Linked DNA regions of Homo sapiens: all the other regions are linked to region 1. The links are contacts of gene promoters, found by promoter capture Hi-C in blood cells and fetal thymus (Javierre and others, 2016). All regions are on one chromosome and are shown on one strand. The core of a region is centred on a gene start or on the middle of the fragment in contact, and the rest is flanking DNA. Distances in the headings are between cores, read along the strand shown. Region 1 holds the start of EPHA6 (EPH receptor A6). Region 2 has its middle 170 kb from the start of NSUN3. Region 3 has its middle 190 kb from the start of NSUN3. Region 4 has its middle 200 kb from the start of NSUN3. Region 5 has its middle 270 kb from the start of NSUN3.

Region 1 (4,737 bases), core at 1,342-3,841:
TAAAAATTCTGATTATAATGTTCTTTTGAAGAAGTCACCTAAATTTTATCCAATTTAACCTTCAGGTACTATTTTGCCCACTGTACTCTTATGCACAGCCTGTGTTATCGGTATATCAATACAAATTCAAATTAAGAGTTTAAGTAGACAATCTTTAATGCTTCTATTTAACTGATGGGAAAATTGGATAATACTCATTCACTAAGTTTAGCTAATTAATAAAAATAAATAAATTACATATGTTTGGCATATATTCTAGGTCAAACATCTGTAAATACTATGAGAAAGTCATTAAAATAGATAAGCAAATAAAAATTACTGGAAGAGGTTAATAAATAACATCTCGATGCTTTTAAATTTACTATGAATGTCTGAAAGGTCATGCTTTAACAGGACATATTTTGGCAGAATGGCACTTTAGGGTCATTTGTAGATTCAGATATCTGTTTTATTTATGTTAGTATCCCCTGGGCCTAGGGTAGTTACTGATGCATCATAGGTATTTAAATAAATAAACATTGTTTGGGGAAATTATTGCATGGGAACAACTGTTACAAACTTCTAGTACACTTGACTCTCAAAGTATTCATCTCTAGTATCCTTACTTACTATTATAAAGTACAGTATCAATGTCTGACTTTCCAATTATTAAAAATTGTTTTGTCATAATAAAAAAGGGTAATCGTTACACGTTTTTTAACAATCTTCTACCTTCACAGAAATGAAGTTAACTACCTATTCAATATTTTATACCCACAGTCTTTGAAAATAAATGAGGGATGTAGTGTGATGGTATATACCACCACAGCAAAACAGGACACTGTAACTGATATCTATTATGTGATCTATCTTCAAAGCCATGAAGGTTATGTATGGTTTCCAAATTCACCTACACATTTGTGATTGCATTCTGTCAGTTTAAAATAACTGTAATAATTAGGAAAATATGCCAAAGTACCACTGTATAAATGAGAACAATTTAATAATTATATTTTATTCTGATTCTGAACATTTCTAAGTAAAATGGCCATATATGTTGATGACAAAGAAGAATGCTGTGTTGTTTATCTTCTCCCTTAACCTTCTCCTCACACAAAAAGTGAACACTTTCAAGCCATCTGACCTCCATTTTTATACCTGCAAATTACTTCGAGACTCTGAAACATATGCCTTATGTGTTAAATGATAACTATAACTGACTACCACACATAATATTTGAAGGGACATATCGGTTGGTCATTACAGCACGAGTGAGAGAATATCTAGCCAGATACATGCTGGGAAACTTTTATGGTTGTTTCATGCTTAGTCTGAAAGGACTTAGAATATGCAGGTGGTACTTTTTATAGATCTTTATGCACAGCAGAAATACAAGGAGATATATTTCATGAAGATTGTATGAATAGAAAAAGGGAAAATGCTCAAATATTCCAAGGGCTTTCCATCACTTTTTAACCACTATTTACCTTCACTTTACCACTTTACCCACCGAAACAAAGTCCTCCAAGCAATCTGTCAGTGACTTGACTTCATGAATAGGGTATTCACAACTTGGAAATTCACCCTAAACCCTTTTCTACTCCCTGCCCGCAAGAATATGAAACCCCTACACAGATCTGGAGCATCTGGTCTAGGAAGAATTTCGAGTAAGTCTACTTCGGTGGCCTGGATGGTAGATGAAGCATGGGGACTGAGGCTGGGCGAGGGCGGCAGTCACCGGAGGGGTGGGGAAAGACTGATAACTGGTCACGGGGTACAGCGGGAGCACCCTGCCTTTCAAGAAGGCATGTGGGAGAACCACACGTTCCCCTGAGAAGAGCGACCACCAAAGAGCCAGAAGTCTCCATTAAGTCTGTGCCACGGAGCCTGACTTCCAGTGGAGACAGCGCAGCGGGGAGCGGTCCCACGGCCGCTAGCGGTGGGACCCAACTGCAGCTGATGCTCACGCTACCGTTTAAAGACATTTAGAAACACAACGGATCCTAGCCTGTGGAGTCACCGTCCCGGGCGGTGTAAACAGGGCGCTAGGGTAAGGGGACATCCTCGATCCCCTCGTGTGGCGAGCCAGGAGACTCTGACCCCTGTACAAAGTTACCTGCAGGAGGCAACCAGTACCCTGGTTCTCCAAGCACCCTCCTCCTCCCACCCACTCCCGCTCCTCCGCCCCGTCCCTTACCTTGGTTGTTGGAGACGTGACTGCAGTCGCCTGGCCACGCTGTCAGCAGAGGCAAGAAGAAACCAAATTGCAAAAGAAATTCCCGGACTTCGCAGCCCCCCATGGTTCTCCTAGGCTCTCTTTTCCTCTCCCTTAAAGAGAAGTGGCGGCAGCGCAGGCAGGTGTTCTGGGTAGGATGGGGGTCCTTGTCCACGTCTTCTTCCTCCTCCTCCTCTTCCTCCTCCACCCGGCCCGCAGGGGGTGTCCCGGGGCGCCCCCTGCGCGAGGTCCCGGGAACAGGGCACGAGGGTCCAGGCTGCCCAGTTGCAGGTGCAGCTGCTTCGGAGGAGGACGCTGCCTGCGGCGCCGGGGAGCTCCTCGCGGCTGGAGGCGAGGGGAATTGCATCCACCACAGTGTCCCGCTTGCGCGAGGACTATTCACTTGGGCCGGAGAGAGCGCGCGCGCGCAAGAGCGAGCTCGGGCTGTGGTTTGGGGGAGGGGAGCGAGGGGGCGGGGAGCGCCTCACCGCGAGGACGGGGGCGGGGACGGACTGCCAGGTGGGGCGGGCAGTTGGGGCGGCCCGAGGACCTCTCCCGACTCAAGTGGGCACTTGCGGAGCCAAAAGCAGGGGAGGCGCTGCAGCTGTGAAGAGGCGTGGGGGCCGCGGGAACTTTCCTCTGGCCGGTGCGATGAAAGCCGGGCGGACGAGGTGGCTCAACGGGGCTGAGAGTGGTTCGGCCGAGGCGCGGGCTGAGCCCTCAGCACCTGGCCTGAGCGGCGTGGGCAGCAGCCTGCACCGCGGACACCTCCAACTCTGCCGCGTCTGCGCCGCACTCTGGCCGTGGCAGCGATTTTCCGGGCATCTCTGAGGCCGCCCTTAGTCCCACAAGCACTTAGCCGCCCATTTCAGAGCAGCGGCGCCGACCGTTTTAAGAGGAGTCAGTTCCCGACACCGCCTCCCACTTACTTCTCCACATTTCCACCGCTGGAGGGGGTGAGTGCCGTGGACAGGCGCTCCCGTCCGGGGACAGCTCAGCGGCGGCAGTCAGCCCGACCCTCCTCCGCGCGGGTCGCCCAAACTTGACCAGCAGAGCGAGCGGCTCAGCGCAGTAGCCGCCTTCGCGGCTTCCAGTTGTAGAAAAGCAAAGCGCCGGGAGGAAGCAGCAGAGGGGGGGTTACATGAGGCTGGAAAGTGGCGGGTGTACGGCGCCCGGGATCGCCGAGGTCCTTGCGTCGCCTTGCGGAGGTGACTTCGCGGTGGAGGTCACGAGCATCGTCGCAGCCTTGACGCTGGGATTCAGGGGTCCCCGAGCGTCCACGGCGTGGTGGCGTCGGGCCGCGCTCTCCTAGCAGTCCAAGGGCCGAGTGGCGCGTGGCCACATCCACAGCAGCGCAGGGGCGCCGTGGGCTGACGGCTCTCCCCGCGCGAGCCGCCCCCTCGCGGCACCCACTCCCTCCCCGCGCTCGGGTCTCCCGGAAGCCGAGGCGCGGGCCACTTGGTGGGACTCCGCGGCCCCCGCCCCAGGGCCGGGGCAACGCGGCGTGCTGACTGGGAGGACCCTCGGCGTCCGCGGTCTCCACCACCTCGCCCCGCGGCGGAGGCGGGCGCCCAGGGCAGGGACGGAGCCCGGAGCGCTGCAGAGCCCGGCCAAGCCCAGCCTTCTCCCGGCCTGGCAGCCGCGGCTCGGATGCCGCCAGTTCGGCGCTAGAGGGGGTTAGTCGACAACAAAAATGCCTGCACCGCTCGCAGGTGGAGGCGGCTCATCAGGCCAGGAACCGAAAGGAGGGAGGGATGCTGTCAGGCTAAACTTAACGCCTTGGTTAAGGGCGCGTCAAGGAAACCGTATCGCTTGGGTGGGGATTTCCGTGATACTTTATTTGTTACTAGTATTTCCAACATCATTTTTCTTTCTTGAAGGGACTTCGGCTATCACAGTCGAGGGAGGTTGAAAACCCCACTTCAAAACCCGTCGGAATGTTTTGAGAAAATGTGGATGGTAATGGAGAAATGTGAACAGAGGAGAGAAAGTAGCGGTCTTGTAAAGGATATACGATATTTTCCAAGTGGGCAGAAAGCACAGGAGGGAAATGGCACAGTGACAAGAGGTCAGGGGAGCGGGAGATGGAGCCAAGGGTCGGCGTTTGACGCTTACAGAGTTCTGGAAGGGAAAGGACCCTTCTATTCCATGCATTCCTGCGCTGCGATGTTTTTGTGCCACACACCATAGCTGAAGAAGTTTCACTTAATGCCTTACAGTAAATTGGAAGGAAAGAAAGAATGAGAGCAAGAAATGTCCCATGTCAAAAATTCTGCTGCGTGGAGAGAAATGGTGAAATACAAGCGATTTGGAGAATGTGAGGAAGGGTTCTGATTGGTGACTATACTCTCATTCTCATTAGGAATTCATACACCTCTGCCTCTCTTTGAAGGTGTGTCCACACCAACTTAAATGTATGCAAATCATTTCTAAAAAGATACCATGTGTGGAGTTTATATATCGGCACTTAAGAGTAAAATCTGACTTTGATACTCATTTTGCCACTCTTACTGATATTGATTGACCACATGAGCATTTGCAAA
Region 2 (4,737 bases), core at 1,641-4,140, 2.6 Mb after region 1:
ATCCCATTACTGGGTATATACCCAAAGGATTATAAATCATGCTACTATAAAGACATATGCACACATACGTTTATTGCGGCACTATTCACAACAGCAAAGACTTGGAAACAACCCAAAAGTCCATAAAAGATAGACTGCATTTAGAAAATGTGGCACATATACACCATGGAATACTATGCAGCCATAAAAAAGGAGGAGTTCATGTCCTTTGTAGGGACATGGATGAAGCTGGAAACAATCATTCTCACCAAACTATCACAAGGACAGAAAACCAAACACCGTATGTTCTCACTCATAGGTAGGAATTGAACAATGAGAACACTTGGACACAGGGCAGGGAACATCACAACCCAGGGCCTCTCGAGGTGGGGGCGGGGGGCTGGGGGCTGGATAGCATTAGGAGAAATACCTAATGTAAATGTTGAGTTGATGGGTGCAGCAAATCAGCATGGCACCTGTATACCTATGTAACAAACCTGCACGTTGTGCACATGTACCCTAGAACTCAAAATAAAAAAAAAAAAAGAATCTAGGCAGGGCTATTCCACTATTGTTCACTTCTCTACTTGTTTTTTATCAGTTGAAATATATGACCACATGGTCCTCCCATCATAGTGTGTGTGCCCTTTTGCAATGTGATGGATCACTTTTCCCATCCAAAGTTGAAGTCTGTTTCCCTATCTGTTGAATCTGGGCCAGGCTTGGACTTGTTTTGACCGATAGAAGGTGACAGAAGTGACATAATGTAACTTACAAAACTAAGAAGGTCGCAATAGGCCTTACATACAACTCTGACTTCCTCTACTTGGAGCACTGCTTGGAGACAGCCAAGTTCTGGAGGCAAGCGTAGGCGCTCCAGAGAACAGCTAGCACCAACCGCCAGATGTGTAAGTTAGGCCATCTCAGACCTTCTAGCCCAGGAGACCCTCCAGCTGAATGTTGCTACATGAGTGAATGAATCCAGATGAAATCAGAAGAGAAGCCACCTAGACAACCTACCAAATGGTAAGAAATAATAACTCATTGTTATTGTAAGCCATTGAGCTTTGAAGAGATTTGTTGTATAGCAATATAAACTGATATAGTATTGTTTTGTGAAGAAGTACATTGAAGCTTTTATTTGCCTTACAGTAATCTCTGACCCTGTGAAAAGAAACACAATACAGTCCTATCACATAGCGGGCACTCAATAATGACCTTGTGAAATAATTAAATGAACGAGTCCTGAGTGAATTTCCTTTAACTCAATAAAGATCTATGGTTTACACTCTGCGGCATTAAACCTCCATCAGCATCAAGATCAGGGCGCCATCTATTGGACACTCAGATAATTTGCAGAGGCAAAGTAGAGATGACTTCAAGATCCCTTCTTTAATGTGAAACTTAACTCAGTAACAGTTCTGAATGAGCCATATGCTTGCCTTAAAGAAGAAACTCATTATATAGATAACCCTATTTTTTTCTCTTCTCTATTTTTTATAATAGAGCAGCTTCAACACACAATGGTTTCCACTCTGTTATTAGCTTTGTTTTGTTTTGTTTTTAGAGATGGAATCTCGCTCAGTCGCCCAGGCTGGGGTGCAGTGGCACCGTCTTGGCTCACTGCAACCTCCTCCTCCCGGGTTCAAGCAATTCTCTGCCTCAGCCTCCCAAGTAGCGGGGATTACAGGCACCCGCCACCATGCCTGGCTAATTTTTGTATTTTTAGTAGAGACGGGGTTTCACCATCTTGGCCAGGCTGGTCTTGAACTCCTGACCTCATGATCCACCCGCCTTGGTCTCCCAAAGTGCTGGGATTACAGGCATGAGCAACCACACCTGAACGTCATTAGCTTTTTAAATAGCTACCCCAAAACACAATTCACTTTTTGTGGATACAGACTCTCCAATATCTAATGGGATTATTTCTAAGCCTTCATATTTAAAAAATAAAATTTAGTCCTCTGGTACACATTCTGTATCTAGTTAATATCAGAAGTCTCCAGGCATTTATACAGCTCAAAAGTAGATGTTTAAGAAATACCTTATTGAGAATTATTTTAATTGCCCCAACGGAAGATCTATTAACTATCCTTTGAAATCTTTCCAGGCTGAAATCACACCTGTGTTCTGTGATGTATAACTTTTGTGCATCAATTGCCCGTGTGAGTGTTGGAATATGACCAAATTGTCTTCCTAGGAAAACCTTGGCCTTGTGCACAGAATCTCATCAGGCACACATCCGTGAGAGATCACATGACCTTCGCGTCAGATGTGTGTGCTGTGTGGAAAAGAAGATTCTCCTTTTCTTGCTAACTTGTATGTTGCAAATAGAGATCAGAGGCCCATGCAACATCACCTCCACAAGCCATTTGGTACCTTTTAATTGCCATTTTATACACCTGTTCCCGGCCTGAGCAAGCAGTCAGGAACCCCTTTAGGAAAACTGACTTTATCTGTGATTAGGGATCTCCTCTTCTAAGAACAGTTTGGGGTATTTTTTCTTTTTCCATGGTCATAGGCTTCTTGTGACAGAAGAATCTGTGTGGCAGGAGTTCCTCCTAAAACAGGAAAGGCTGTGGTTAGGGTACTTCGTAACACAGCAGTGCTCTGAACAGGTGATGTAGAATGGGCCGTGGTGATGTGGTCTTCATTAATGTTAAATGTCAGAAGAGATATCAATCAATTGTTGAAGCACATACAGAATTTGTGCACTTAAAGCTGTTACCAAAAAGGGTAAACCAAAATCTCTTCTGTATAATCCTTATCAAAAGCATATATGAGAGACAGATGGACTAATGCTTCTGAAGTATTGCCTAAAGGTTATGCCATGCATCAGTTCCACTAAATATTCTAAAATGTATCCCCAGATCAAGGTAGATCATGAGGGAAGGACACATATATTTCATCATTTTAACCATCCCAGAATTTCTTTCTTTCTGTTTTTTTTGTTTGTTTGTTTTGAGAGTCTTACTCTGTCGCCCATGAATGCAGTGGCACAATCATGACGCACTGCAGCCTTGACTTCCTAGGCTAAAGCAATCCTCCAGCCTCAGCCTCCCATGTAGCTGGGACTACAGGTGCACGCCACCGTGCCTGGCTATTTTTTTCTTTTGTTTTTTGTAGAGATGAGGTTTCACCATGTTGCCCAGGCTGGTCTCAAACTCCTGGGCTTTATCCTCCCACCTCAGCCTCCCAAAGTGTGATTACAGGCATGAGCCACCACACTCAGCCCAAAATTTCTTTTTGTTTATTCAGCTATCTTCCTGTCAGGACTTTCTGCCATGTCCTCCTAAATGGTCTCCCATATACATTTTCATACCCCTCTAATGCATTCTCCACACACTAATCAGTCTGCTTCTTGAAAAATGTACATCTTATCACACATCTCCCTGAAAGCCTTCCATGACTTCCTAATGGATTTATATTAAAGTTGAAATCCTTAACATTGTCCATAGGGTTATGCATGATCTCATCCCCATCTGCCTCTCCAGTTCCTTCCAAGGCCATTTGACCTCCTTCAGTAACCTGATGGAGTTATAAGGGAGCAGGTCCAGAAAATAATATTTCTCTTCCCTACACGTTCTGCCTGTTTAGGCAAAAGAGCAAGGTAAATGAGACAAAAAAAAAAAAAAAACTCTATCACATCTAAAGATTATACTACAGAATATAGCTTTTAAATAAAGGGAGTTTTTGAACTCCAGAATTAGATTTATCCACCTAGGTTCAGGCAGCACTGAACAACTCTCCTCCTGACCGTGGACATAGCCTCAGCTGCTAAGTTTAACTCATTGCATTCTGTCAGCAGTCAGCTGCAGTACCACAGGATCTCAACATTTCAGTGCCTTGACACACAAAGGTTTACTCTTTACTCGTATAATGTGTCCGTCACGAGTCAACTGGGATTCTGCTCCACATCCCCTTCTCTCTAGGAACCAGTCTGAAGGAGCAACAACCATCTCAAACCTGGCTCGGTGCTATTACAGAAAGATAAACGGGGTTTTGGAAAGTCTCTCTTTTTGGCAATCACGTGCTCTGCTCCAGAAGTGAATCACATCACTTTCAATCTCAATCCAGTGGCCAGAACTAATAAAATTGTCCCACCAGTAAATTAAACCTTTCATGTGCCCAGAGAATGGGATGTTGGAGAGCAAAAGTAATGACTATCTCCATGGCCTAGAGTAACTGTGAGGAGGTGCTCTTGGCAGGTATGTCATCATCCTAAAAGACATGTGAGTAGAAGGTAGACTACATATACCAAAATTTGCCACTAAGAGTTTCGTGGAGTAGAATAGGGCTTCTTTAAATGAAATCCTTTTTCATAGAAGTCAGATGAATAGGGAAAGGGTATTCCCCTTTGACAAGACCCATTGTGAAAATTTGATGTTTGGTTCAATTGAAATTAAACATTAAGCATAATTTGAGTTAGGTATTCATCTGAAATCATGGGCAGCCTCATGTGGAGAAATACACTGTATAGAGCTTGCCAAATATGTAGAAGACTTCCAATAGATAACTTAAGTGGGTTCTAGAAATTACAATGTGGTATTGGCAATCCTCAAAGAATAAAGAAAGAAAGTGGTTTTGCAAGCTAATTTTTACATAGCTTTTCCCATTGGGAAAGTTGGGATGACTAACAGTATGATATGCTTGTGTATCATGGTATTCATTTTCTTTGATAAGCTTTTTAAAAAATATATTAGGTACATACAGAAAAGCGTACAAACCGGGATTGAATAGCCTGATATACTTTCACAA
Region 3 (4,737 bases), core at 598-3,097, 2.6 Mb after region 1:
TCGCAATGCAGGTTTCTGCCATAGCCTCAGAGAAATCCTAATGTGTTTTGACATATTTATCTGTGGGACTCTGCCATTGCATTAGCATTCTTCAAATTATTTCTACATTTAAATTGATTTCAATTACATAGACATTTTCAAACATTAATATTCATTTGAGATATTTCTGATATCTTCTTGGTGTGCTAAACTTTTTTAGGCACTAGTTCATAATTAACCCACTCCACATGTAACTGCTGGAGAACAACCCTATGAAATTCTGATTAGTATAAGAGCCTTTTTGCATATGCTCAAATTTCCTAAATTATAAACATTTCATTGACAAAGAGCTCACCAAGACTGCACTTTCAAATTTCTCTCTTCCCCATTGTTTGAGAATAAGTAACTCGGGTGAGGAAGAAGCTAAAACAACTAAGAGATTCATTGGCTTGTTATGAGTTAGAAGGGGAGGAATTTGGTTCTGCGGAAGAGGTTAAAAGCAGAATAAAGAGCTCAGAGGGACATAAAAAGATAACTTGATCCCTTCTTGTGAATTTCCTGAAGGACTTAGTATGAATGGAATGGATTTCCCATGGAAACTTATTTTAAAAACTAATTGATTTGTGCAAACAGAGGCATGATGTACAATTTCAGGAGCCATGGGCAGAAGAAACCATGAACATTAAACTCAGAGAAATGAACAGCACTTGCAGGGAAGAGTCATGGAAGCAATGTCATCTAAATCTCAATGTGTAGAAAAACCCACAAACGTTATCTGAGACACATTAAAATTAAATGAAATTATAGACAAAATACTTGTCCCCTAGAAAGCATCTAAGAAACAACAGTTGCAGCTATTATATTATCTCATTTAGGCTTCACAGCTTATCTAAACTTGAATGCAACGAAAGGTTTGGGGCTCCATTCCCCATGTTAGGCTGGAATGCGAGGTAAGGCAACACTGCCCCCTGGTGGTCTGCTCTGTGTAAAGTCTTATTGGCGGAATTTGAAATAGTTACTCAGCTCCATTCCTGCTCTTGGTTGGGATCCAGGGATTGATGGGAGTGAATTTGAACTTGTGTTGCAATTGAAGTACTATCTTGTCTGAGGCCTGAAACTTCCCCAAAGTTGTATTAGAATAGAGAGAACGCCTGGAATCCAGAGAAAAACCTACTGTAAGTGAAGAGTGGTACAGATGGAGCAGCAGAGTGGGGAATTGCAGAGGAACTAGCAGTTCCAGGTGAAGATCCTGCTAGGGTTGATCATCCCTTAACTTTAACCTTCTAAAAGTTCTGTCCTCTGGAAAAGAGAAGGTGCAATATTAAGAGGTAGTCAGTATCACTAGCGATGTAACAGCTTTACAATTAAAATGTCAGCTGAAGATTTCCTGGCCAGTGGCTAGTTGAAGAGATTAGTAAGAGTCAATGGGGTATGGGAGGTTGACAGCAGCATGGCAGAGGTCTACGGGTGGCCTGGAGGTCAGCACAACAGAAGAGCTCAGCACCAGCACAGGCAGAGGCTGGGCAACTGGTCCTGCTAGTCCAACAAAAATAGGAGTAGAGAGATTGCTGCTCTGCAGGCAGAACTTTTCAGAATCACCCTCGTTTCTATCCAGCCACAGATCCCAGAGGGAATAGCGAAGGAGGTCTCAGGGAGAAATCTTCTGTTAAGGACTTGTCAGGGAACATATTCACTGGCCAAACTATTTACAGTTTATAACCATTTAATAGATGTGAAAACTGAGATTCAGAAGCTTGGTCAAGTTCACACAAGTAGCTTTTTTTCTAGCAGAAAGATTAGAACATAGATCTATGTGATACTGATTTCTCTTTTACTTATACTGACCTAGCTCCCTTTTATAAACAAACAAACAAAAAACAAACACACAAAAAAACGCTTGGGTCTTCAGAGACATCTATGCCTCTGCTCCTTCCAATTTTAAAGTTTTATTATTTCACTTTACACTTAATTACATAAGCTTCTTCTAATCTTTTTTCTAGAGTAGGTGGAAGATAAATACTACATAAAATAAATTATACTTCTATGGAAAAATATTGTACAAGTTCCAAACAACTGGCCTTTGCATGAGCCTTTATAAAATAACCTTTTAATGATTTGAGGTCAGAATCTATGTGGGCCAATCAGAGGATTGTTTCACAATCTACCAACAGGCTCCATTAAAATAATAAGAAATAAATCATACTTTAAACAGCTTTGAAAAGAATATTCTGAAAGGTTAAATTATCTGACCTTGATGGATATCTTTCAATATATAGTAATTTACAAATTTATGCATATGTCAAAGAGACTTGATGTGACAAAGTTATGTTCTTAGAATTATGCATTTTCTTCTTTCATAGACTTTTAGTCTAAACTTCCAGTGAGATGGAAATAAGCAGAATTGAAAATAATGGCTGAGTCACTAAGAAATTTGTTAGCATACTTAATGTTAAAGAGAGTTGTTTTTCATAACGGGTAGAGAAATTTAATCACCAAGCTTCCTTGGAGGGAAGGAGGCCAAAAACTGTTTTCTAGTGTTTTCATAGGATGAAAGTGTGGACAATAATAATTTAAAATTAGATAGACTGGGATACACTGAACCTCAGTTCTGGTTGCTATACTATTTAAATAGTGCCTACCACTACAACTCTGATTTCCAGATAAAATATCAAATGTTTTCTTTTTTCATTTATTTACAGAATTTGATTTTTTAAACCATATTTCATGGTCCTTTTGGAGAAGAAAAATTGTCCTCAAATAATTTACATTTGACTTTTGGATTTCCCCCACACTTCTTTGTGGAGGAGGACGCTTGATTCAGTGGAGCTCAACTTCCAGCCCACAACCATACCCCGAAAAGGAGCTTCCATTTGAAAGTTACCATGATCTCAGTGTAAGCAAACAGGCACTCAAAGCTTTGAGAGGAATGTATAACAATATATTTTTATGACTTGGTAAAGATGTCCCTCAAATACCCTTCTAGCAGATGAGCTTATTTATTAGTAGAAGATAAGTGCATTAGCAATTAGTATTTGATCACTCTAGTATTTCAAGCGGAAGGAGAATTAATACAAACAGTATTAATTCTTGCTTATCAAACTATCAGACATGCTGGAGGAATAGAGGTCCGGAAATACAGACTCTTGCTATCAGTGATGGCCATTACCTCTCAAACATTCAGAAATTTGCAGTAACCACAGGAAGACACTGACAACAATCAGAGCTGCCTCTAGCACTGAGGTGGATCATTCCCAGGGCCATATCTGGAAGCCCCTGCAAAATCCGACATCACTTGAAGCCCACATTTCTGATCACTACTGCCAAGAGGAGCAATAATGGATTTCCGCGTTTCTTTCACTTTCCAAATCTCATATCTTCTATGTGAAGCAAATTTCTGCCTTCCCCTCTATGTCAGAAACTAGAAGTTTTCAGGCAGCATCAAGTCTTCCAATCACTAAAGATTTTTGGCAGAAAAAGATTCTAGGATCCTCTAAGAAGCACTTATGGTTAAGGACCAGGGAATCTGAATTGATGACCCAGACTTGACTACAACTATCTAAGAGGTTATATGGTGAGGCTTAGTTCTCACACAACATGTAGCTGAAGTTGGATGCTCTTTCAAGCCAACTGGGTCACACTCTGGAAAGAACAGCTGAGCATATGAGCATGAACTAAAAAGATGCAATTCTAAGGGAAAACTTGGACCATCCTTCACTGAAGGAGTGAGATTAACCTCCACCTGTGCAAAGGAACCTGTACAAAGATCTGGACCAGCAAATTCGTAAATACTGCAGTGAACTCTGCCAAACAGATGTACAAAAGTGACACTGGGCAGCAGCTACAGAAACCATGGCAGTGGAAAAATAAGTCCCACTAGTGAATCAGTCAATTCTCTTTTTCTCTCCCGGTGAGGTCATCGTAAGCAAGATTTGCACCTTATACTATGTTATCCCCTGGAGCAGTTAAATAATTGGAAGAGAGAAAAGATTTAGAAGATACTGGATATCCTGCTATTTTTGAAAGTATAAAATTGAGTTGATTTTAGTTTTAAAATTGTTAAAGTTTCCAGATAAAAAATGGTAAATTGAAAGTATTTAAAGGGTTGTTGCTGTCTTCTGAAAGCCCAATAAACTGTATTTTTTTAATAAAGGCATAAACTCACATAGACAAACAGTGTTGGAAAAGAGACAAAAGCGACACAGCTTTGGAAGCTAGGAAGCAGCTGGATGAGTGGTAAATTACTTGGCAAATGTGAGAAAGCTGGATTCTCAGCCAGCGGTAGGAAAAGCTGAGCAGTTCCCTGATACATGTGACAGAAGCCCCCAGAGACTCATGATTTAGTAGACCGGGCACCTCTAGAAAAACTGGGGTGGGGAAATGATGACTAAAACAGCAGGATTCTTTGGAAGTCATTTTAAAAGAAAAAATTAGACCTTCTGGCTTCTCACCAACTTTATGAAGCCAGACAACTACTGTTGTCTCGTTCTGGCAGAAGACTAACTGCTTACTTAAAGAGAGTAAAACAGGTTTTTACCCACCGAAGGAGAGCCAGGCACAGTGGCAGGCAGAGGTGCCATAACACAACCAGGAGAAGTAATTCATATGCAAGTTGAGAGCCCCCAGGTTTCTTCCCCCACCTGACTCCCAGAATATCGGTTCTGAGGTCTACCCCCTCCAACCAGGACACAAAAACACCTCTCTTGGGCAAATCTGCAAATCCAAGAGAAAAGTTTTAAAAATGCTCTCTTAAAGGATTTT
Region 4 (4,737 bases), core at 1,129-3,628, 2.5 Mb after region 1:
AACTGCCACTACATTTGACAGTGCCTTTTACATTTCAGCAGCTTTCCCCCCCAATCTGCATTACAATTCAGTAGAGGATGATCTACTATAGCAAGAAATGGTCTGGACAAGCTTCTGATTAGCAGGAGGTTCCAAACAGCGGTGTCTCTGCCAGACAGATGTCAGCAGAATCCAACCTCCCAACCTTGTTGCAACTGTGCACAGGAGCTGCCTAACCATGGTGCTGTGACATGCCCATCATTGGTTAAGATTTCATACAAAGATGTTCAATAACAAATCCATTTTTTCAGAGGTCAATATGTATTGGCCCTTCCAAAACCACCCTGGCATCAATCCCAGGACATAATTTATTGCCTAATAAGCAAGCAAGCTTTTCAATGATTTGCTCTCCCCCAAATCCCATTCTTTATGATTTGGCTGTCCTGATGCCAACTCCCAGAAACCTGAGGCTAGGTGGGAAGGGGAGGGGGGTCCTTAAAGAGACCGTCAATGCTACATAAAAATTTGGAAAAAATGGAAGCACCTTTACCTGATTTGGTAGTTGTCACTGATTGATTCACACTGCATTCTTCTAACTCCTCTTTCCAGAAGTCTGAGTCTATGTTAGTATTATAGTTTCCTATCAACAGCTGTCCTTTCATTTTTCCTCCCCACTTTCATTTTGCCCAGAAATCCTCTATTTAATTCCACCCACATGCTCCAGTCTAGCCACCCTGGAGAAGTTTCTGAGTTAATCAGTAAGCTTTAGCTTTTCCTGGCTAAAGCAAAGGGGCAGCTCAGAATAAAAGTCATCTTTGGCCCTTTGCATTGGGGCTTCCACCTAATTGCCTTGCCCTGCCTTCTCTCTTTGCACATCTCTTACACACTTGCAAGAGGTGGAGTTCTTTCTCCAGCAGCTGTGTCTAGCTTATGGACTGCTCATTCCTCTTCCTGACACCCGCTTCTCACCAATACTTCAAGTTATCTTCCCTGGCAATGGTCCTTCACCCGACGTCATTGACAGTCTGGTGTTAGAACACTTGAGGTGTCAGGTAATGCTGAAGTAGACTACATTTGACAAGATAACGTAGCTTCAGAAATTTTGGGCAATTATGGGCCAAAATCATTGCGTACAAGGGAAAAATAACTCCTACATCAATGCAATTCATCCTTTTAAAAGTAAGCTGTTTTACTAGTATTTTCCTTCTAGCATTTTGTTAAGTTTAATAGCTTACTGAAGACCACAAGAGGAAGAAAGCTGGAGAATGTGGAAGAATTTCTAGCCTAATACATTGTTATTCACATTTTTTCTAAATAATCTAGTTCTGGAAAAGAGGATTTGTAAAAGGTAATGAGGGATTAGTATTGGTTCAACACTCTTTTCCCTCTTCCACCCGATCCCATGCTCTGCTTGAAATCACTGAATGGGGTATAATATCAACCTGTCAATACAATCAAGTTCAACCTATTACATTTAGGTTAAACCTGAATTTTCTTACAAGAGTACCAAGTCTAGAAGCTTTAGAAGATGAAACCAATGTCCTCATATGAGATTGAGAGAGTGCTGCGTGACACTAGTAAGATCATCTATGTCAATATATCTAGCAAAGTGTTTCTACAGCTATATCTGTACACAATTTTTGGATATTTGGCTTACTATAGAAGTTTGATAGAAAAAGAAGTATAAGGGTAAATGATGGAAGAACTGTTTTGATAATTAGCAGAGCAGAATGGAAAGGTAGAGACAGAAAAACTGTTATTTTCACTTTCTGCTTCTGGACACCAGAAAGAAAAAGAAAAATCACTGCCCATGGTAACCTCTGAGATGGCAATTTGAGACATTCCAAGTATTGAAATTCTAAAAGAAAGAGAGTATTACCAGGCCAATGCTAGAAGAATGATGAGAGATTGCTTGGGCAATGCCAAGGGGATGAAGTAGGCTGTGGGATAAGAGAGCACACAGACAGGGTGTCACTCATTAGCTTTGTAGGATAAACTTCTCTCCAGGCTCTGGCCCTCAGCCACGTCCCTTATTTTGTCAGGACATCAAGAGTAAATCCATCTTTCAGGGCTAAATTCTTATTAGCAAGTTTATAAAAGGAATTTGTAAATCCAGAATTGGATAACACGTTGGATAGCAATGTGTTTTTTATGCAAAGGATTTGAACCATAGCAATTTAGCTAACTTAGAACTACATTTCCCATAATTAACTTCCCAGTGGTCCAGGAGAGCCCTTTTGCATAAGTTTTGCAAGTTAGACTGAAGCAGTGGCCATATTGTTTTCATCCTCAGGCTGGTACAGGGGCACCAGGCACTCTACCAACCCATGCTCATTGACACCTCAGCTGACACTGGATTAACATGGGGCAACACCTAGCCCTGCAGCTGCTCCAACCTACCCTCAGTTGTCCTTCAGGTTCTCTGTCTTCTTGGCCCATGTGTGTGTTAAGCTCTATGACAAAGGGCATCAATTTCTCCTGCAGGCCACCAGCACCATTGAAGTTGGAGGCAGAGTGAGACCAGGGTTTCAATCCATCCTCTTGGACTGCAGCTTGAGCCAATGGGTTACAGTTTTCCTTTCTCTCCCCACTCCAAATCTGTCTTCTTTTCTTGAAAGTCCTGCAGACTTTAAGCTCCAGAAAAGATGCAAAGGCAACAGCCTTGCAGAGGCTGATTAACCATCTCCCATGATTGCATAAGGTACAATCTGTATAAAAAAATCTTAGTGGTTCTGCTTCTCTGATCCTACCCTGACTGTTAAAAGAAAAAAAAAAAAAAGCTAGTTAAAAGATAGCTAGTATGGGTCTCAAATTCTTCAAGCCCATGTGACAAGCATACTTCTCTGTAGACAGAACTAACTGAGAATGAAATAATAACCAGAAGTTTGCTTAAAAAACTTAGAAACAGAACCGAACATTAATTAAGTGAATGAAACATGTAATGTAAAATAGATGTCTTCATATAGCATCTTCTTGCCAGTTTACTGTAATCTAAGACTCTCTTCTCTGAACTATGTTAAGATAGACTTTTCCAAAGTGTGCCTCTATACCCTTTTCAATATGGCCAAGAGTGAATGACCAATGTCTGATTGATACTTTTTTCCTTTGATGCATTAATCATTCAATCATAGTTCAATCTACATTGTTTTTTGTTTTGTTTTGTTTTTGTTTTGGTCAGCATGAGATGACTTTGTGTATCTCTTTTCTCATGTCTTATAACCCAAATACTGACCAAAAAATACAGGAGATCACATTTCTTCCCCACAGTTGAGAAGCTTTACTTCATTTCTTAGGTTCTGCAAGTTAGAGATAAACTTAACTTCTCAAGCAATCTTTTTTATGAGGCAAATACCCTGTGGAGGCTAGCAGACTTTTTCATCTTAGTATGAATTAACTCCATCTGCTTGCTTTCTTCTTGCTGTGGTCAGCTGTGCTAAAAGAATCGGTTTTTTTAGCAGAGTGTTAGGAAGGCAGAAAAATTGTTTTAGAATGCAGGGATCTTTGAGGGAAGAGGAACCCAGTTGAATCATCACAGGAGAAAGTGGGCAGACTCATGCAGTCTAATGGTTCAGGGCTTCTGAGAAGCAGGAGAGGGAACATGCTCAGGATATGTTTTCTGACTCTAAATTCTGAAGTCATAAGTACTTCAGTAGATGATCTAGATTCTTCCATAGATTCTTTCAAGTCTCAGACCTTGATTGAGAAAATTAGATGGTGAGTTGTAGTTCAAAGGCTAAGTACATGAACAGCTCTCTCCCCAGTCAGACATCAATACCATCTTCATCTATGGTTCTCATTAGATGTCCTTTGAAAGGCTTTGACACATATGTGTGGCATCCGATATCTTGATAATTGCAAAATAATCAAGCTGCGAGCAGTAATTATTGACAATATAGAAGAATCATTGTATTTTTGCTGTTGTTGTTGTTAACTTGAATACAACCTCCAAATTAAGTGCCAAATGCAAGCCAAATGTGAAGTTCTTCTCTCTATCAGAACTCCAAATATTGGTGTTTATTTGATTCTTAAAAATAGTATTTTCAGCCTTAAAAAGAAAGCTTGGAATTATTGGAATAAAAATGAAGGAGTGTATATAACCGTATTTTATAAAATTTCACTTTCAAGCAAACTTTATGAGGCATTTTATTTTGTATAGAAACTTTGAAATAGCCTAAAGGCTTTCTTTGACCAGCTGCATATTCTATCTCTTAAATGTCTTCGGAGTGAAAAGATTCCCTCAGCAGAGGCACCTGCAGGATGTGCAACGATTCATTTTTACTCTGAATATCAGTTCTGTGGAAGCATCAGCTCTACTGGCTCATCATTTACATTCACAATGGACATCTGGAGCCAGAAAAATGAAACATTAGACTTGTTTGTGTTGTCAAATTAAAAGGGAAAAAGAGAATGGTTTAAAGTTCTGAGAGTCTCTGTAACATTTAATTATGCTTTCGACTGCAGTCCAATCAAAAATATGCTTTTGCAGGAAAATGGGCACCAAGAAAAAACATGCTTTGCTATTCAGATTGTTGCTAGGTCAACCTCTCAAATCACAAGCTTGGAGAAAAGCAGCCACCACAATGAGTATAGAGTCTTTCCTCTGAAGAAGCCGAACAGCTCCACCAATATCCTCAATAGGACTCTTTCCTTACATTCCCAGGGGATGACATTATTCATTTTTTTCCTGACTGAAGCACTGTGAAGCCAACGGCATTTAAGAAGTTAACTAGATCTGGAAGATTGTGTTGCCAATATATG
Region 5 (4,737 bases), core at 1,145-3,644, 2.5 Mb after region 1:
AATACAATTGAACAAATATATATTAAGTTCCTACTATTTTTAAGATGCCTGGAAATCAGAAAAAGAGAGGCAACCAATGTCCTATAGAAATTCACCATCTAAAAGGATTTATTAAAGCTGGCACACAAATAACTTAAATACAAATTGATAGGGTTTAAATGGCTCCTCCAAAACCAACACTGAACTTTAATTGCCATTGTGATGGTATTAATAGGTAAAACTTTTAGGGAGTGATTAGATCATGAAACCTCTGCCCTCATAAATGGATTAATGCCATTATCTCAGAAGTTTGCCCTCCTTTTCCTCTATCTGTCTCAAGTACTTTTGCCTCTCTAGCCCTTTCTCACCATGTGATATCTTTCATCATGTTATGAAACAGCAAGGAGGCCCTCACCAGATGCAGCCCCTTGATCTTGGACTTCCCAGTCCCAAAAACCATAAGCCAAATAAGTCTCTTTTATTTATAAATTACTGAGTGTGTGGTATTCTGTTATAGCAGCAGAAAATGGACTAAGACATAAACTGTAATGGGTATGAATGTCATTCCACAAAACTCAGGTGGGCAAAAAGTGTTAATTTGTTTGTTTTCCTATATCTTAAGTTAATTTTGTATTTTTGGTTCCCATTTGATCAAAATGAAATCTTAAGTCAAGATAATCACCTTTGTTCCAGGGGTTTTGTCATAAATCGAGGGTTCTTAGGTGATGCCTCAATATAAGGGAATGAGGAGATGGTATTTTTCCTTATTCAAGAGCTCCTCCTGCTGCATCCTCTGAGATAAACATGTTAGGACCTAACAGTTACTGACCTATGTAAGTTGGCTTCAAGTTTTCCCAAGAGTTCCTGTAGGAACTCTCCAGGTGTGGTGCACTCTCTGTCTCGGTTTCTCTCTCTCTCTCTCTCTCTCTCTCTGTCTCTGATGTTTTCAACATCTCAGAAGGAGAGAAAACAACCAGCTGCTTTCCATTGCTGCTGTAAGTTGTGAGAAATTCTGTGAGGCTGCTCTACGCTCTCTCATTTCAGACATGACACTGAAGCCTTCCTTTTGCTCTCACATGATACTGGGCACCAGGGGGAGGTCTGGTCTTGGGATTTTCTTGGTTATTCACTGGGAAGAAGAGAATGGATCTTGCTTTCAAATCTGGGATTTGTCTGTGCCTTTCCAGTTTTCAAGCAAGTATGGAGGGGCAGAGCATAGCAGCTCTACCATACATAAACGCTCTTACTTATCTTCTGATTACTTCTTTCTTCTCAGTCCAAGCAAATTTTATTGAGTCACTAGGGTTGGGAAATACTAATTCTCTCTGATCATGAGTTTTTCCAACTTGATTGTTTATTTTAACTTTAAGCTTTAGAAATTCCAAAGTCTTTCACCCAACTAGGAGTTTTAAAAGTCTTTTCAAATGGCCTTTCAAAAGTTGGGTTTTTTTTTTTCTCTCTCTCTCTGTTTCTGATTCTGGTCATATTTATTCCATGAAACATAAATGTGGAATATTTTAGCTACCTTCTCTAGAAGAAAGATTATAAAGAACTACAGTCCATATCTCAAAGTATTATCCTACTACATTTCTCCCACTGGCAAATACTTGCATTCTTTAACAAAAACCCTTATTCCAAAGCTCCCTCCATGCTAAAAAGGTGAAGATTTACTTGAATTTGTTTCTACAGAATCTTAACTCCTTCATGCAAACAGCCATGGGTACTGTCTTAGTCGGTCATGTGCTGTTATAACAAAATATCACAGACTGGTTAATTTACAATAAACAGAAATTTATTTCTCATAGTTCTGGAGCCTGAGAAGTCTAAGATCAAAGTACCAGCATCTGGTGAGGGACTTCTTGCTGTGTCATAACATAAGAGAAGGACAAAAGGAGGGTGAGAGATAGAAAAGGGGGACAAAATTATAGTTTTATAAAGAATCTACTTGCATAATAATGAGCCCACTTCCATAACAGCATGAATCCATTCTTTACGGTAGAGCCTTCATAGCCTAATCACCTTTTAAGAGTCCCATCATTTAATACTGTTACAATGGCAATTAAATTTCAACATGAGTTTGGAAGGAGACAAACATTCAAACCATAGCATCTATGGTTTTCGCCACACCCTACAAGGTTGTGTTATAAGCTTAGAAGTTAGGAGAAGTTTTCACCTCACTGTATTGCGTCTTCACTCACTGTCTCAGGTGTCTCTCCATTCTCAGAAACAACTTTATTTCCTTCCATCTACAGGAGCTGAGCCATGGGTATAGGTAGAGCTTCTCTATCCTCCTATCACCATAGTTACCTGAATCTAGCCCCTAAGAAACCTCGCACATTCCATTCTGGTACAATGATGGTTCTCAATTGTTTTTGTCTAAAGTCGTCAGTGATATAAACTGACTCCCTACTCAATCTCTACCCATGCCTTCTTTCTACCAGAGTTGCATCTAGCAACTGAACATCAGCTATCTGGCTCAAGAAAGAAAATAAATTATGTCTATTTCCTTAAAGAACCATAGTGTTTCCGTAACTTTTCGACTCTGGTTTCCTCCTGCAACTCCTCAAGACCACCTTAGTTTCCACCTAACCAGTGGTGAACAGGTTACAGATACAGTCCACCTGCAGATTGGTTTTCTTATAGGAAGGCAAAAAGAAGAAAATCGATGTGTGTGAAGCTTTTAAATACTCTCCTTAAAATGTCTCTCCTGAGTTCTACTCTTCCACAATTATTGAAGATTAAAGAGTTTCTATAATTCACTTGCAAAATTATTTGACATGTTGAAATAATTCAGTTAAAACTTTATTTCTATAGTTGGTATGCTAAGTTTTCAATTTCTTAGCTATTTTCTCTTTTACTAAAAAAAAAGAGCATGGTAGCAGAAAGTTAAACTGGAGTAAAATAGCTAAAATAATGTACTTTAAAATCTATTTTGTTTATGCTGAAAATGTCTTCTGAAAGGCCGTATTAATATTTACTTTATTTTATACGTCTAAATTTTTTTTAATTCTGGGGTTATGGAATTTGAAAATTGTTTGATTCTAATTAATCAGAATTTTCTTTTATTTAGTTCTGGAAACCCATAAAAAGTTATTAGCTGTCAGCAGCTTTAATGCCAGTTTATTAGAGGCCCTGATTCAGTGCCTGCTGATAGTTATTGTGAAGGCTGAAAGGTTAACAAGAATGGGCTGCTACCAACCGCCTTGCCAGGTGTTTTTCCCTGCAGTTAATGGACTTGAGCCAATTGAAATTATTACTCTAGAACAAGTTGCAGACACTCTTAATCTTCCCATAGAAACATTGCTAGGGGAAAAAAAATCTGGGATTTGTATTGTTGCTTTTCACCATTGTAAAATTTGGAACAATTAAAATAAACTATAGCTAATCTTCTATTTGTAAATGAAGGCTTGACAACTCTAAAAAGAAAGAAAGAAATCTTTAAAAATAATGTGCATGTGTAGCATGTTTCATTAAACTAATAACAGTCCCTTCAATGAAACAATGTGTTGTAAAACCTTTCCCAATTTTTCTTTTGAGGCATGGTGGTTAAGGGCTACATAAGTATTAACATGTCTAAGTTCTTTTAATTGCTGGGTTTATAAATCTGAACAGCTGTAATGAAATAATCAGAAACAACCAGATGGAATTGGAGCCAGTCACCATGGGTATTTGAGAAGTGCATACTGTTTGGGGAGACTGAATATGTACTGATCCAATCTAAAATGGAGCAGATGGCAAAGCAAACAGGTAAGCATTTGCTTTATCTTCCAGATATTGTGATTCACTGATTACCTCTATTTATTTTGGGAACTTTAGAACATCTGTAAAAATCAGATGAAAGACAAACAGAGGTGACTGCAAAATACTTGAATAACGTGTGGAATTTTAGAGCTTTCTCATTGTCAGATGAAGACAGAGGGATTCTCACCACTTGCCAATCTTTAGGAATCACATAGAATTTTAGGTAGAAACACATGAAATTAACTGCTTAACCACAGAAAATGCAAAGGAAGTAAATGCTTTAATTGCATAAAATCCAAAATTAGATAAGTGGGAACAAGAGAAAGAGGAATGGAAATGGACCAGATACAGTAGAAGTGGAAATTGGTCATGCCCAACCTAACATTGATGTGCTCATCTGGTGCCAACATCTTAGTTTCTAAATACCATTCTCCCCATAAAGGAACTTCAGTTCCTTGGAAAAATGGCTGAGGGCAAGAAAAATCGCTGATGATTTTAAATGTTCTTATAATGTCAGAAAACAAGAAGGTCCTCAATGATTAATGGGGACATAACAAAAAGGCATAAGGACAAGTTTGAAAGATCCAGCTGACCAAATTTGAGACTATTTGAGCATTAAAGAAAAAAAATCATAACATATTGCATTTTAAGTCAACTAAATATAGAGGGGGTAGCAGGAAAAAAAAAAAAAAAAACCTCAAAAAAAGTATGCCAGCTACTATAAGTGGAAGAAATGATACAATTAGAAAATAACTATTTTGCAAACAATCTCAGAATTGATTTAGGCAACAATCATCAAATATTACTTAAAAACATAGAGTAAAATGACCTCCACATTGTCAGCATTTCACCCAACAGATTATTATGAATTATGAAGGAAAAAAAGGGAAATTTTGCAATAGTGAGAACATCTTAGCCCAGGGATCAAAGTAAGCATCACCAATAATGGGACAAATTACCATTATGTACCTCCTGATATGATACAATGGGAAGCCACAATATCACCTTGCTGTCATG

The links. The method cuts DNA at HindIII sites, captures the fragments that hold promoters and counts their contacts. A CHiCAGO score of 5 or more calls a contact.
Region 2: a contact is called between a fragment that was not itself captured here and the fragment with the promoter of EPHA6 in region 1, in 1 of 17 cell types (erythroblasts). The highest score is 7.7, in erythroblasts.
Region 3: a fragment that was not itself captured here is called in contact with the fragment with the promoter of EPHA6 in region 1 in 7 of 17 cell types (M2 macrophages, M1 macrophages, endothelial precursors and 4 more); the score reaches 24.9 in M2 macrophages.
Region 4: a fragment that was not itself captured here is called in contact with the fragment with the promoter of EPHA6 in region 1 in 1 of 17 cell types (M2 macrophages); the score reaches 5.7 in M2 macrophages.
Region 5: a contact is called between a fragment that was not itself captured here and the fragment with the promoter of EPHA6 in region 1, in 2 of 17 cell types (megakaryocytes and erythroblasts). The highest score is 15.5, in megakaryocytes.

Annotation. Positions count from the first base shown.
Region 1 is chr3:96,812,448-96,817,184 of GRCh38, reverse strand. It overlaps EPHA6 (EPH receptor A6), which reads right to left and starts at 2,591. Exons shown (of 18, transcript NM_001080448.3): 1 at 2,177-2,591. The coding sequence starts at 2,561. LOC124909397 (a long non-coding RNA gene) reads left to right here and starts at 2,778. Exons shown (of 2, transcript XR_007095974.1): 1 at 2,778-3,150; 2 at 4,075-4,737. RefSeq lists silencers at 3,506-3,625, 3,686-3,755. The HindIII fragment of the contact is 10,030 bases long and covers 1-4,737 here.
Region 2 is chr3:94,230,958-94,235,694 of GRCh38, reverse strand. No RefSeq gene overlaps it. Among named protein-coding and RNA genes, the nearest start is that of NSUN3, 170 kb to the right of the region's middle. The HindIII fragment of the contact is 3,549 bases long and covers 1,116-4,664 here.
Region 3 is chr3:94,245,918-94,250,654 of GRCh38, reverse strand. No RefSeq gene overlaps it. Among named protein-coding and RNA genes, the nearest start is that of NSUN3, 190 kb to the right of the region's middle. The HindIII fragment of the contact is 225 bases long and covers 1,735-1,959 here.
Region 4 is chr3:94,262,539-94,267,275 of GRCh38, reverse strand. No RefSeq gene overlaps it. Among named protein-coding and RNA genes, the nearest start is that of NSUN3, 200 kb to the right of the region's middle. The HindIII fragment of the contact is 1,756 bases long and covers 1,501-3,256 here.
Region 5 is chr3:94,332,553-94,337,289 of GRCh38, reverse strand. No RefSeq gene overlaps it. Among named protein-coding and RNA genes, the nearest start is that of NSUN3, 270 kb to the right of the region's middle. RefSeq lists an enhancer at 2,305-4,737. The HindIII fragment of the contact is 529 bases long and covers 2,130-2,658 here.